Regions from separate parts of the Homo sapiens genome. Here region 1 is linked to region 2. The links are contacts of gene promoters, found by promoter capture Hi-C in human tissues and cell types (Jung and others, 2019). All regions are on one chromosome and are shown on one strand. The core of a region is centred on a gene start or on the middle of the fragment in contact, and the rest is flanking DNA. Distances in the headings are between cores, read along the strand shown. Region 1 overlaps RNF145 (ring finger protein 145). Region 2 holds the start of ADRA1B (adrenoceptor alpha 1B).

Evidence for each region. The method cuts DNA at HindIII sites, captures the fragments that hold promoters and counts their contacts. A contact is called where the count stands out against the background at its distance.
Region 1: a fragment that was not itself captured here is called in contact with the fragment with the promoter of ADRA1B in region 2 in 1 of the 25 tissues and cell types used here (mesendoderm cells).

What each region holds. Positions count from the first base shown.
Region 1 is chr5:159,197,980-159,203,702 of GRCh38, reverse strand. RNF145 (ring finger protein 145) reads left to right here. Exons shown (of 11, transcript NM_001199383.2): 2 at 47-269. The coding sequence starts at 86. Among named protein-coding and RNA genes, the nearest start is that of RNF145, 8.7 kb to the left of the region's middle. The HindIII fragment of the contact is 5,582 bases long and covers 1-5,180 here.
Region 2 is chr5:159,913,748-159,919,160 of GRCh38, reverse strand. It overlaps ADRA1B (adrenoceptor alpha 1B), which reads right to left and starts at 2,679. Exons shown (of 2, transcript NM_000679.4): 1 at 1,307-2,679. The coding sequence starts at 2,255. RefSeq lists enhancers at 1,489-2,105, 2,106-2,722 and a silencer at 2,786-2,845. The HindIII fragment of the contact is 5,190 bases long and covers 280-5,413 here.

The DNA of each region.
Region 1 (5,723 bases), core at 1,140-3,639, 720 kb after region 2:
TTGTGTTGACTTTTTATTTTTATATATTGTGTCTTCTGAATTTTAGGTCTTCTCCAAGAAAAAAAAAAAGAAAAAAAAAAACAACATGGCTGCAAAGGAGAAACTGGAGGCAGTGTTAAATGTGGCCCTGAGGGTGCCAAGCATCATGCTGTTGGATGTCCTGTACAGATGGGATGTCAGCTCCTTTTTCCAGCAGATCCAAAGAAGTAGCCTTAGTAATAACCCTCTTTTCCAGTATAAGTATTTGGCTCTTAATATGCATTATGTAGGTGAGTGTCTACATCACATTTTCTAATCTTCTAGTGAGCATTCTGATTTATGTCTTAGTATCTTTTTGAATTTGGGTAAAATGAAGTTCATTTTCATTAAGATGATAGTGATATAGTTATTGATGAGTGTTTATGAATCTTGATAGTTTTGTCTTATCATTGCACATGAATTATTAAGGCTACAAGAAAGTAAGCAGTATTGGATTTATTTTACTGGATAAAACTGGAAGGCAGAAGAAAACATTCTAGATTTTAATATGATGAAATATAAACAATGAGAAATACTTTTAGAGACATTTGGCCCCTTCTAATTTGTCCTTGTTTTGGGGTTTGGTAGTAATTCAGAAAGTAAGCTTTTTAAAATGCAACATTCTTTATTGTTCCCTGAGATAAACGAAAACATTAACATCAGCTGAAGATAAAGTGTTCAGTTAAATGAAATTTGGGAAATGATACTATAATACTTTGTTCCATAAAAAAAATCCTCCTGGAACTATAATTTTTTTTTTTTTTGCTTGAATCCCCTTTCAAGAAAAATGGAACTATCATTGATATGCTATGGGGTTAGTGGTAAAAATAATGATAAGAGATTGAAGAAATTAAAGTCAAGAAATACAAGCATGAAACAGATAAAATTTACCTAGAATAAAAATCATGATCCTTACTTTTTAGGTTTTGGTTTATTTGTAATGTATATAGCAATATATTTTATTAATGTTGTGATTGCAGAGTTCCAGACATGGTTTGAATGGTACTATAGTGGTTTTGCTAATATTTTATTATTAGAGTTGCCTGTCACAAAATATATCTTTTATAAAGTCATGAAGAGTTGTCCTGTCTCTCTGAGATTTATTTTTATCACTTTCTGGGTTCTAAAACTTAGCCCTGAGAACGTTCCCCTTACATCCCTAAGAGGTAAGCTGTTGTGGAAAGAAGTATGATGTAGTAGAAGAGATGGTGCACTAGAAACAAAACGTTTCGGTTCAGTAAACTCATCTTTTGTGGATAGCACTACCTTGGGAATGTCTCTGAAATGGGAAAGTTCCTTTATGTTGCAAAACACTGTAATTCTCAGCCTTTTATGAAAGGCTTTGTATGTTAGCCAATTTATGGAAAGTAATTCCCGTCAGTTGTAGAACAACTGGGTACTTGGCTTAGATTTTTAGATTAATCAGCAAAGTCATACATACTGTGGTTTTAAAAATGTGCTTATATATTGTTTCTGAATAGGTTGAAATATTTATTATAAAAACAGCTGCCTGATAACCAGGAATATTAATTTTAGAAATTGAATGTTTTCGAGTACAATTGAAGTTCATAATCTGGTTTATAATTTTATAAAGTTAGTTGAGCCATCTTAAATATGCTTACTCCATGCCAAAGTAGAGTAAGCTCAGTGGTTGCATGAACAGATATTTTCAGCTTGAACAATGTTTTGGTTGGAGTTACCTTTGTCAAAATATTACATAGTGTTTATGTAATGCTCCTGTTTACAGAATTTCACCCTCAAATACAAATCAAATTTCACCTTAATAAAATAATGTATCTACATTCAGAAATAAAAAAGCATAAAAAGTATTTAATGAAAAGTATCTCCCTCCCATCTCTGTTACTCATTCGCTGAGTTCTCACTCTGAACACCATGTAGCTTTTATTTCTTTCTGTATAATTCTAGAGATATTTTTATGTATATATAAGTAAATATAAAAAATGTATATTTCCCCCCTTTTTATACAGATGTTAGCATGGTATACATGGTTTTGAATCATGGTTTTTGTTTGTGATGTATGTGGAGCCATAACTACTGCTTTTAGATATTTATGAAATAGAGTTTTGTGCTCTTTTTCTTATGATGACAGTCTGCCGGATCTTAAAGACTCTCTTGAGTAGATATCGAGGCCTCATTTCTCCTCTTCCCGATTGCATTTTACGTTGGCATAGTATCTTCGTATGGATATACCATAATTTATTGAACTAATTACTCCATTGGTGGACATTTTAGATAGCCTACCTTCTGCTATTTTGTACAGCGTTGTGCTAAATAACTTTGTATAGCTATAATTTCAACAAGTACAAATATAACCTGGGGCTAAGTTACTAGAAGCGAAGTTGCTGGGTTAAAGAGTACAGTGGTCCGTCGGTGTATGCTGGAAGTTGGTTCCAGGATGCCCACGTATACCAAAATCTGCGCATACTCAGGTCCCTCAAGTGACCCTGTGGAACTATGTATGCAGAAGGTTGGCCCTCTGTATACGTGGGTTTTGCATGTTGCAAATACTGTATTCCATAAGAGTTTGGTTGTAAAAAATCTACATGTAAGTGGACCCTCACAGTTCCATCCTATGTTGTTCAAGGGTTAACTTATATATATTTGTAGTGTTGACAGATAGTACTTTCCATAGGGTTTTACTATTTTGTACCTCCAAAAACCGTGGTTGAGAGTTCCTACAATCCTATATTATCAAAACAGCCTGTTACCACAAATATTTTGGCTACTCCAATAGGTGGAAAAATTGATTTTTTTAACTCAATGTAGTTTTAGTTTGCATTTCTATTATGAATGAATTGAACATACACATACTTAAGAAAAACCTGTATTTTCTCTTCTGAGAGTTGTCAGTTTATATACCCTGCCCACTTTTCTGTGAGATTCTTTTTTTACCAATTTGTGGGAATTTGGTATACATTAGGGAAATTAATCCTTTGTGATAAGTTGAAAATAGTTTTTCCAGTTTCAACTCAGTGATTTTGCTTATGATTTTTTGACATTTAGAAGGTTTTTAAGCTTTAGTATTTTGAGTCAATTAGAAAAGCCTTCTTTATTCTTGAGTTTATAAAGAATTCTGTTGTATTTTATCTTACTATTTTTGTGGGTTTATTTTTACATTTAAATCTTTGCTTCATTTATCTGTATGAATAGTGTGTTATAGGTATAATTTTATTTTTTCTAGATAACCACACAGTCATCCTCACCTATTTAGTCCATTTTTTTCTCATTATATACTGAATTCTCACATATATTTTGTTTCATTTTTGAACTTCTCTTCCTTTAGTCTGTCTGCCTGTTTGTGAACTATTAACACGCTGTCTTATTTGTTGAGGGTTTAGATTATATTTTACTGTCTAACAGGGTTAGTCCCTTCAGTTTTCTTTATTTCCTCCTCTGAGCTTTTTTTTTATGGTTAGTTTTCTATGTGAATTTAAGAATTGTCTCAAAATTGTCTAGGTCTCATTCCAAAAACAAAGCAACCCATTTGATTTTTTTTAAAATTTAGATTGCATTATTACTAATTTTGGGGGCAGGTGGGGAGGATGGGTTCTTGCTGTGTTGCCCAGGCTGGCCTGGAACTCCTGGGCTCAAGTGATCCTCCTGCCGCAGCCTCCTGACATTTATTGTTTCTAGGTATTTTATCTTTTTTATTGCTATCGTAAGTGGGAGTTTTTCCCCCTTTATGTCTTCTAATTGTAATTAAGGAGCTTAAAAATTAAGGGAGGGAGCAATAAAGTTTGTATTTAATGGAATGTAATTGTGTCTTCAAACTTAGAAGCTTTCCAGGGTGGGTTCTGCTGAAAGAGAAGTGACTGCCCACTGTTTTTTGGAGTGTAGGATATGAAAGGAGGAGTAGAAGTAATATTGGTAAGGTAGAATAGGGCTTTTGTGAAGAATCCTGAATACATACAGTAGATATGGTGCTTAATTCTATAGGTCGTGGTGGGTCAGTGGGGATTTTAGAGCAGGTGAGCTGCATTTTAAGATTGATTAGGCAGCGTTTTATAGGATGATGGATTGGGGAGGGGAGAAACTGGAGGTAAGAAGACCAGTTAGGATTTTAGGCAAGAGGTAATGAGAGCCAGAACTGGCAAGGTAGAAATTAGAAAGGAAGAAATGGATGCGAAAATCCTTTTGAAACTACCATCACTAAAATCATTAGTGACTTAAAATGTAAAATTCAACCCTCATTTATGTCCTAATTCTACAGACTTTTCTATGTTTATGGAGCTGTTTACCACTTCCTCTTTCTTGAAAGTGTTTTTTTTTTTTTTCCTGATTTTTCTCCTAACTCCCTGACCATTGCTTCTGATTCTTTTGATTTGTTTTCTTTAGACTTCTCAAGTGTTGATATTGCCCACAATTTGTGTTTAATTTTAATCTTTTGTTGTTTGGGTGACCGAACGTAGTTTGGGCTGCAGATCTCTGTCTCCACTTTACATTGCTTTTTGACCACTGTAGTCTGGAGTTGATGTTCTTCCTCTGTGATTCCATGGAACCAGTTCACATCTCTACCATAGCAATTATTATGTTGCATTCTAAGGGTCCATATGCTTATCTATTTTCCCAACTGTTAATAGATTGTGAGCTCCTTTAAGGTAAGAAGGGGGTTGTTTATTATCTCAGTATTCCCAGCACCTAGCTGGTGCCCAATAATGAATGAATTTTATATATATGTATGTATGTACGTGACAGGGTCTCACTCTTGCGCAGGTTGGAGTGCAGTGGTGTGATCATGGCTCACTGCAGTCTCAGACTCCTGGGCTCAAGTAACCCTTAGCTGCTGGAGTAGCTGGTACTACAGGCATATACCAAGGTCTTGTTTTGTTACCCAGACTGGTCTCAAACTCCTGGCCTAAAGTGATCCTCCTGCCTCAGCCTCCAAGAGTGCTAGGATTACAGATATTAGCCACTGTGCCCAGCCCTGAATGAATGCATTTTGAATTACTTCTTAGACATTTCCACCTAAATAGCCTATGGACATTTCAATTTGTTGTCAATCACTGAACTCATCACCTTTTTCTCACCTCAGAAGTCTTTCTCCTGCTGTGTTTCCTGTCTTAATAGCAAAGCTGTCTTCTTGATTACCCAAGCTAGAAACATCAGATCTTCACTTCCTTGTTCTCAACTAGTCACCCACAGATAACCACTAAGACCTATTTAAATATGTATCTCATGGCTGACTGGCAGCTCCATACCCAAAGCTACTGTTACAATCCAGGCTCTCATCTTACCTCTGGTCCTGCTGTTTACCCTACAACTACCATAATGTTTAAATAGCAGAAATTATTAGATTCATCAGTGTTGTTTTAAGCAGGTCATCATTTTGATTTATTTTTTATTTTTTCTGTTCTCAGAGTCTGTTCCCGTAGGTCATTATTTCTTTTATTTATTTATTTATTTATTTATTTATTTATTTATTTAGAGATAGAGTCTCACTGTCGCCCAGATTGGAGTGCAGTGGTACAATCTTAGCTCACTGCAGCATCAACCTTCTGGGCTCGTGTGATCCTCCCACCTCAGCCTCCTCAGTAGGTGGGACCACAGTTGTGTGCCACCACACCTGGCTAATTTTTTGTATTTTTTTGTAGAGACAGGAATTTGCCGTGTTACCCAGGCTGGTCTCGAACTCCTAAGCTCAAGTGATCTTCTGCTTTGGCCTCCCAAAGTGCTGGGATTACAGA
Region 2 (5,413 bases), core at 1,430-3,929:
AAGATGACATGGAGAAAAGGTTAGACGGCTTTTGAAAATCTTTTTCTTTCTTTTTAAATGGAAACTCGATATCTGTTTGCTTCCTTTCTGTTTGCATTTTTCTCTTGAAAGCAGTGTGCCTTCAGAATTTATAGCTGTTTGAGGGATTTGGTTATATTTGGGTCTGACCTGAGACTCCGGTGTGATTGCAGGCATATGTGGTCCGCAGTATAGCAGCTGTTACCTCTCCTGATATCATGGCACATGACTGTGTCATGATAAACTCCCTCCATTCATTTTCTGTAGTGTCCCCCAGGGATAGGAGAAGGAATCAAAGCAGATCAGTGCCTCAGAGGAAGGACAAGGGATCCCCAGGCCATGTGGACAGCATGTGACAGATGCCCCCCTTTAGGTTTACCTGCTAACCAGACCTTGGCTTCTTCCTTAGAAAACATCAGGTAGCCTTTTGAACAATTCAGTTAGTAGGACCACCAAACAAAAAGAAGACGAACATGTTTTCATAAGAGGGGGAGGACGCACTGAATTCCATCTTACCAGGATTTGGTCTCTGTCAGCTGAGATGAGGGACAACTATAATTTGATTCTGGGCATTCCATAAATCACTAGAGTTAGAAACATTTTTGGGTAAAAACTAAAAATGTGTGACCCTCTAGTCATCTTCTCTTTCACATCTCAAGCTTTCAATAACTTAAAGGCTGGTTGGGGCTGTGTGGCTGTAAAATGCTCTTATTAACGGATAATGAACGTAGTATATCTGGGTGATAGCTGTCAGTGAAGAGGGGAGGGAGAGAATGCAGCCTCTGCAAAGCTCTTGAGAAGCGTGGCTTCTGCTCTAGCCCTGGAAATGCTGAATGAATGCTGCCTTTCTGTGTACGAGCTGCCTCCCTGCTTCCCAAATGCCGCGTCTGCAGTAACTACAAACTATTTTGTATGCTGCATTAGTGACGCTGCCTTAGCCGACACATCATTACTACTGAAATAACGCCGGTGTGATATTCAAGCCCAGTGAATATCCTTTTTAATTATTAAACCGAGGCTGTTGAGTGAGTCATTCCTCATACCAGATTTTCCTTCCCTGGTTCTATTTCCAGAAGCTAGTGCCTTAGCGTGTTCTACTAACACCTGAGTTGGTTTTTAGCCAGCTCCCCAATCTGCAAACCCTTTGCAGAACAAACAATATTATTCAATCTCCGAACACGCACAGACTGCATAAGAAACAAAACCCACAAAAAACTTTAGAGTAAGCTCATCAGTAAACCCAAGGTCCAAAAATGCCCAGTCCCCCTGCTGCTAGTCCCCAACTTACCAAGCGGTAGAGCGATGAAGAAGGGTAGCCAGCACAAGATGAACATACCGACCACAATGCCCAACGTCTTAGCTGCTTTCTTTTCCCTGGAGAACTTAAAAAGTTTGACAGCTATGGAACTCCTGGGGTTGTGGCCCTTGGCCTTGGTACTGCTAAGGGTGTCCTCGTGAAAGTTCTTGGAATGGATCCTCAGGGTCAGCTCCTTGGAGTTGGACATCTCCTTCATGACTCCTGCCTCTAGGTTCTTGGTGGTTCTCTTGGCCACTATATAGACACGGCAGTACATGACTAGAATGACCGCCAGAGGGATGTAGAAGGAGCCCAGAGAGGAGAAGAGGGCATAGAAGGGTTCTTCGGTGACCCCGCACTCCTTGTCATCGTTGGGTGCCGGCTCCTTCCACCCAAGGAGAGGCCCGATGGAGATGACGGTGGACAAGACCCAGACACTGAGCAGCGCCAAGATGGCCTTCCTCCGGGTGACCAGCGTGGGATACTGCAGAGAGTAGCGCACCCCGATGTAGCGATCGATGGAGATGGCGCACAGGCTCAGAATGGACGCTGTGCAGCACAGGACATCCACGGCTGCCCAGATGTCACAGAAGATCCGCCCCAGCACCCAGTAGCCGAGCACCTCTAGGGCCGCTGAGAAGGGCAGGACGGTGAAGCTCAACAGCAGGTCGGCCATGGCCAGGTTGACAATGAAGTAGTTGGTGGGCGTCCGCAGGTGCCGGTTGCAGGCCACAGACAAGATGACTAGGATGTTGCCCACGATGGCAAAGAGGATGAAGGCGCCCAGCACCAGGCCCACAGAGATGGCCCTGGTGATGTCCAGCTGGGGCAGTGTGGAGTTGCTCGAGGTCTGGTTGGGGCCAGTGAAGTTGGCATTTTTCAACTCTCCCCAGTGGGCAGGTGCTGATGTGTTGTGGCCGGTGTCCAGGTCGGGATTCATCTTAGAGTCCGCCCTCCATAGCCAGGGGGATGATTGGGCTCGGAAGGGCTGCGGCGAAGGCTCCTCAGCTGCCCTGAAACTTTGCTTCCCCCGTGGTCTTCTTCCCAGAGGCGCCCTCCTGGCGAGGAGTCATCTCCCCCGGGCAGCCCAGCCCGGCAGCACGTCTCCTGCCTGCACCGAGTCGCTCGCTCGCCTGTCAGAGGGAGGAGGAGGAGGAGAGGGGACGAGGCGGCAGCTCCAAGTTTAATGGTCCACGTCAGGCGCGCCTGGCCGGGCTCGCGGGGGAGCGGCGGGGAGGAGGGGGCGGCAGGGCCGGGGGCGCCCGGCGGTGCCCAGCTCGCTCGGGTCTGCGGACCGCGGCGCGTCCTCCGCCCAGCGAGCGCCGAAGAGGGTCTGCTTTCAATGAGCCGCTTCTGGGCTGACTGCACGGCGGTGACATCAGGCGGGGGAGCCCGGCGCCCTGACTCCGCGCGGCACTAGGGGGCAATGCGGGTCCAGCCAAGGCGCCCGCAGCCCCGACGCCGCCACCCCGCAAGCCGGGAAGCCAGCCGCGTCCCCCGCCGCTCCCAGGGCGCGCCCTCTGCGGGGGGCGGGGCGGGGGCAGGGGCCGCGAGGGCGGGACCTGGGCGTGGAGATCGCGGGTCACCCACCCCTAGGCGGCCCGCTGGGGTTATTTTCCCCGCTAGTCACTCTTCCGTGTCAAAGGTGGGTTGGGGGCTGCTTACCTTTAATAGGGGGCTCCCGGAGTGGGCCCCGGATTTAACGGGATATGCAACTTGTCCAGCACCTAAAAGAGGGAAAGAGAATTCTAGGATTGGGCAGGTGGGAGGGACTTGAGTCGGATCTGAGGCCAGCCCTCATCCTTCATCTGGCTCCCCTCGCCCCGTGCAAACTCTTTGGCCCCAGTAAAATCTGGCTTCTCTTCATCCTTTCATTCGCTCAGGCATTCACTCATTTATTCAGCCGATTCTTACGGAGTCTCCACTCTCTGCCCTGGCTCTGGGCGCTGTGAACATAGCAACTGAACAAAATAGACGGACTCCTGCCCTATAGGAGCGTAGCTTCTCCCGACAGAAGACAGACAGTATACTAAATAAGCAAATGATGAGGTGTGTAATGTGATGACAGGTGTTAGGCTGAAAATAAAGTAAGGAGGGGGAAATGCAGTGGGGTGTTTGTGGGGTGGATTTGAAATGTTAAGTGGGTGCTTGGGATGTCACTGAAGTGATATTTGAGGAAACATGAAGGGAATTGAGGGAGGAAGCTAGCTGGCTATCTGGGAGTGGGGGTGAGGGAGGTCAGAGACCTGGGGAAGGGACGTAGAGGATCTTGGTTATTTGTTGAGTTTTTTCCTTTCTGTCTGATATCCATGTTGGACATTCAGTCACAGGGACGCACTCCCAAAGGTGGGTGAATGGTACTTAGAAGAGAAAGTATGGGCCAAGAAAGAAAGAAAGAAAAAGCCAAAGAACTTTATGTTAGTTCACATTTATCCAACATTTATTTTGTCCTAGACAGTGTGCTGAGTTCTTTTTGCATTTTCTCATGACTCTCATGAGAGAAAGAATACACTCTTCACCATTTCTATTTCATGGATGAGACACCAAATTATGGGGAAGTTTAGCTGTTCGCCCAAGTTCACAAAGGCATGGAGGAGAGCTGCTGGGAACTGAACTCAACTGTGGGGTCTCTCCCAAAGTTGGGTACTCAGCTACTGTGTCATACTTTTCCCCCGGGGCAAGGTAGGGGATGGAACCACTGTTATAGATGGAGCTGCCTTTTGAGTAGTTAATTTTGGGGCCTGAGCCACTGGTGCTGGGCAGGGACTCCCATGAATTGAGCGCTTACTGATAGCCATGCATTTACTCAGTTTCTTTGAGACTTTACAATTCTTTGAGAGAAGCATAACCATTGTTCATTGAGAGATGAGAAACAGTGGTTCAGAGAGAGTCAGTTGATTCCTGAGGTCATAGGCTAGCAAATATATGGCAGAGCAATGGGCAGTGGCAGCTGGAGATTGAAAAGTAAAGCCTGATACCTTCTTTTACTCCAGTTCACAAGCCTGCATCTTGGGTTTCTCACCTTCTGCTCTTGATACTTGTTATAACTTGATATTCACGGGTGGGGAAAACAGAAGTCACTCAGGATGACTTACATCTAAGCTTCTCAACCTAGAGGTAAGCTCTTAACCTCTTTTTATTTTTATTTTTTGAGAAGGGAGGCAGGTGGTTATCATACACGTATCGAAGGTTTTAATTTACTCCCAGCAAAGTGCACAGACTCCACACATGTGCAAAATACACAATTTCAGGGGGTTTCCCTCGGGTTAAGAAATCTGTGGTAGAGACAGTCCTGAAAATGGATTATTTTCTATTATAATTAAATTGCCCTAAGCTGTATTTGAAGATTTGATAATAAGAGATTCACAAGTTTATAGTGATTTAGATCTTCAGAAGCTCTCAGAACCTTGGTTTGCTTATCTTCCTGTGTTGGAGGTGGTGCACTAGGGAAAGAGACTTGGCAAGATGGTCAGGAGCAGAGCTGGTTAGGAAACTCTGTTTCCCTGGCCTACAGGACAGTGCTCCTTCTGCTCCTGCAGCCACTCATGACCTACACAGTGGGGTGTGAGACTGGAAGAACTTGGCAGCCCTCTGTCAGGGGTCTTTATTAAAAGGAGAGGCTGTCATTGGTCCTGGGTGGCTCAGACTAGTCTGTCTGCAGATAGGACCTGGCTTAGATGATCTTTGAGATCCCGTAGCTCCAGGTGGTCAGCTTCTCTTGCTGGATAAAGTGGCCCCCGAAGGCACCTGCTATCCTTTCTCTCATGCATCTTCCAGGGTAGGGGTGAGAGTGAGGTATCATGAACTCAGTTCCCACCATTCCCAATGTATCATTAAGTCTAAGATAATGGGGCTTCTCTTGAGCTGGTTTACTTATAAGGGGAGAGGGAGGAGGAAGAGAATACCAGTAACCTGGCACGTAGCTGGCATTAGCACAAAGACAGGGGTGTAGGGGAGGGTAAGGGTGGGATAAAATAAAGAGCAAGTTCCAAATCCACATTTTGATTGTGGTGGCCCATTTCCCACTTCCCTGGGCATTAATTTCACCAGCTATTGAACAGCCAGCAACACACCATTGAATTTACTGAGGCTGTGTCT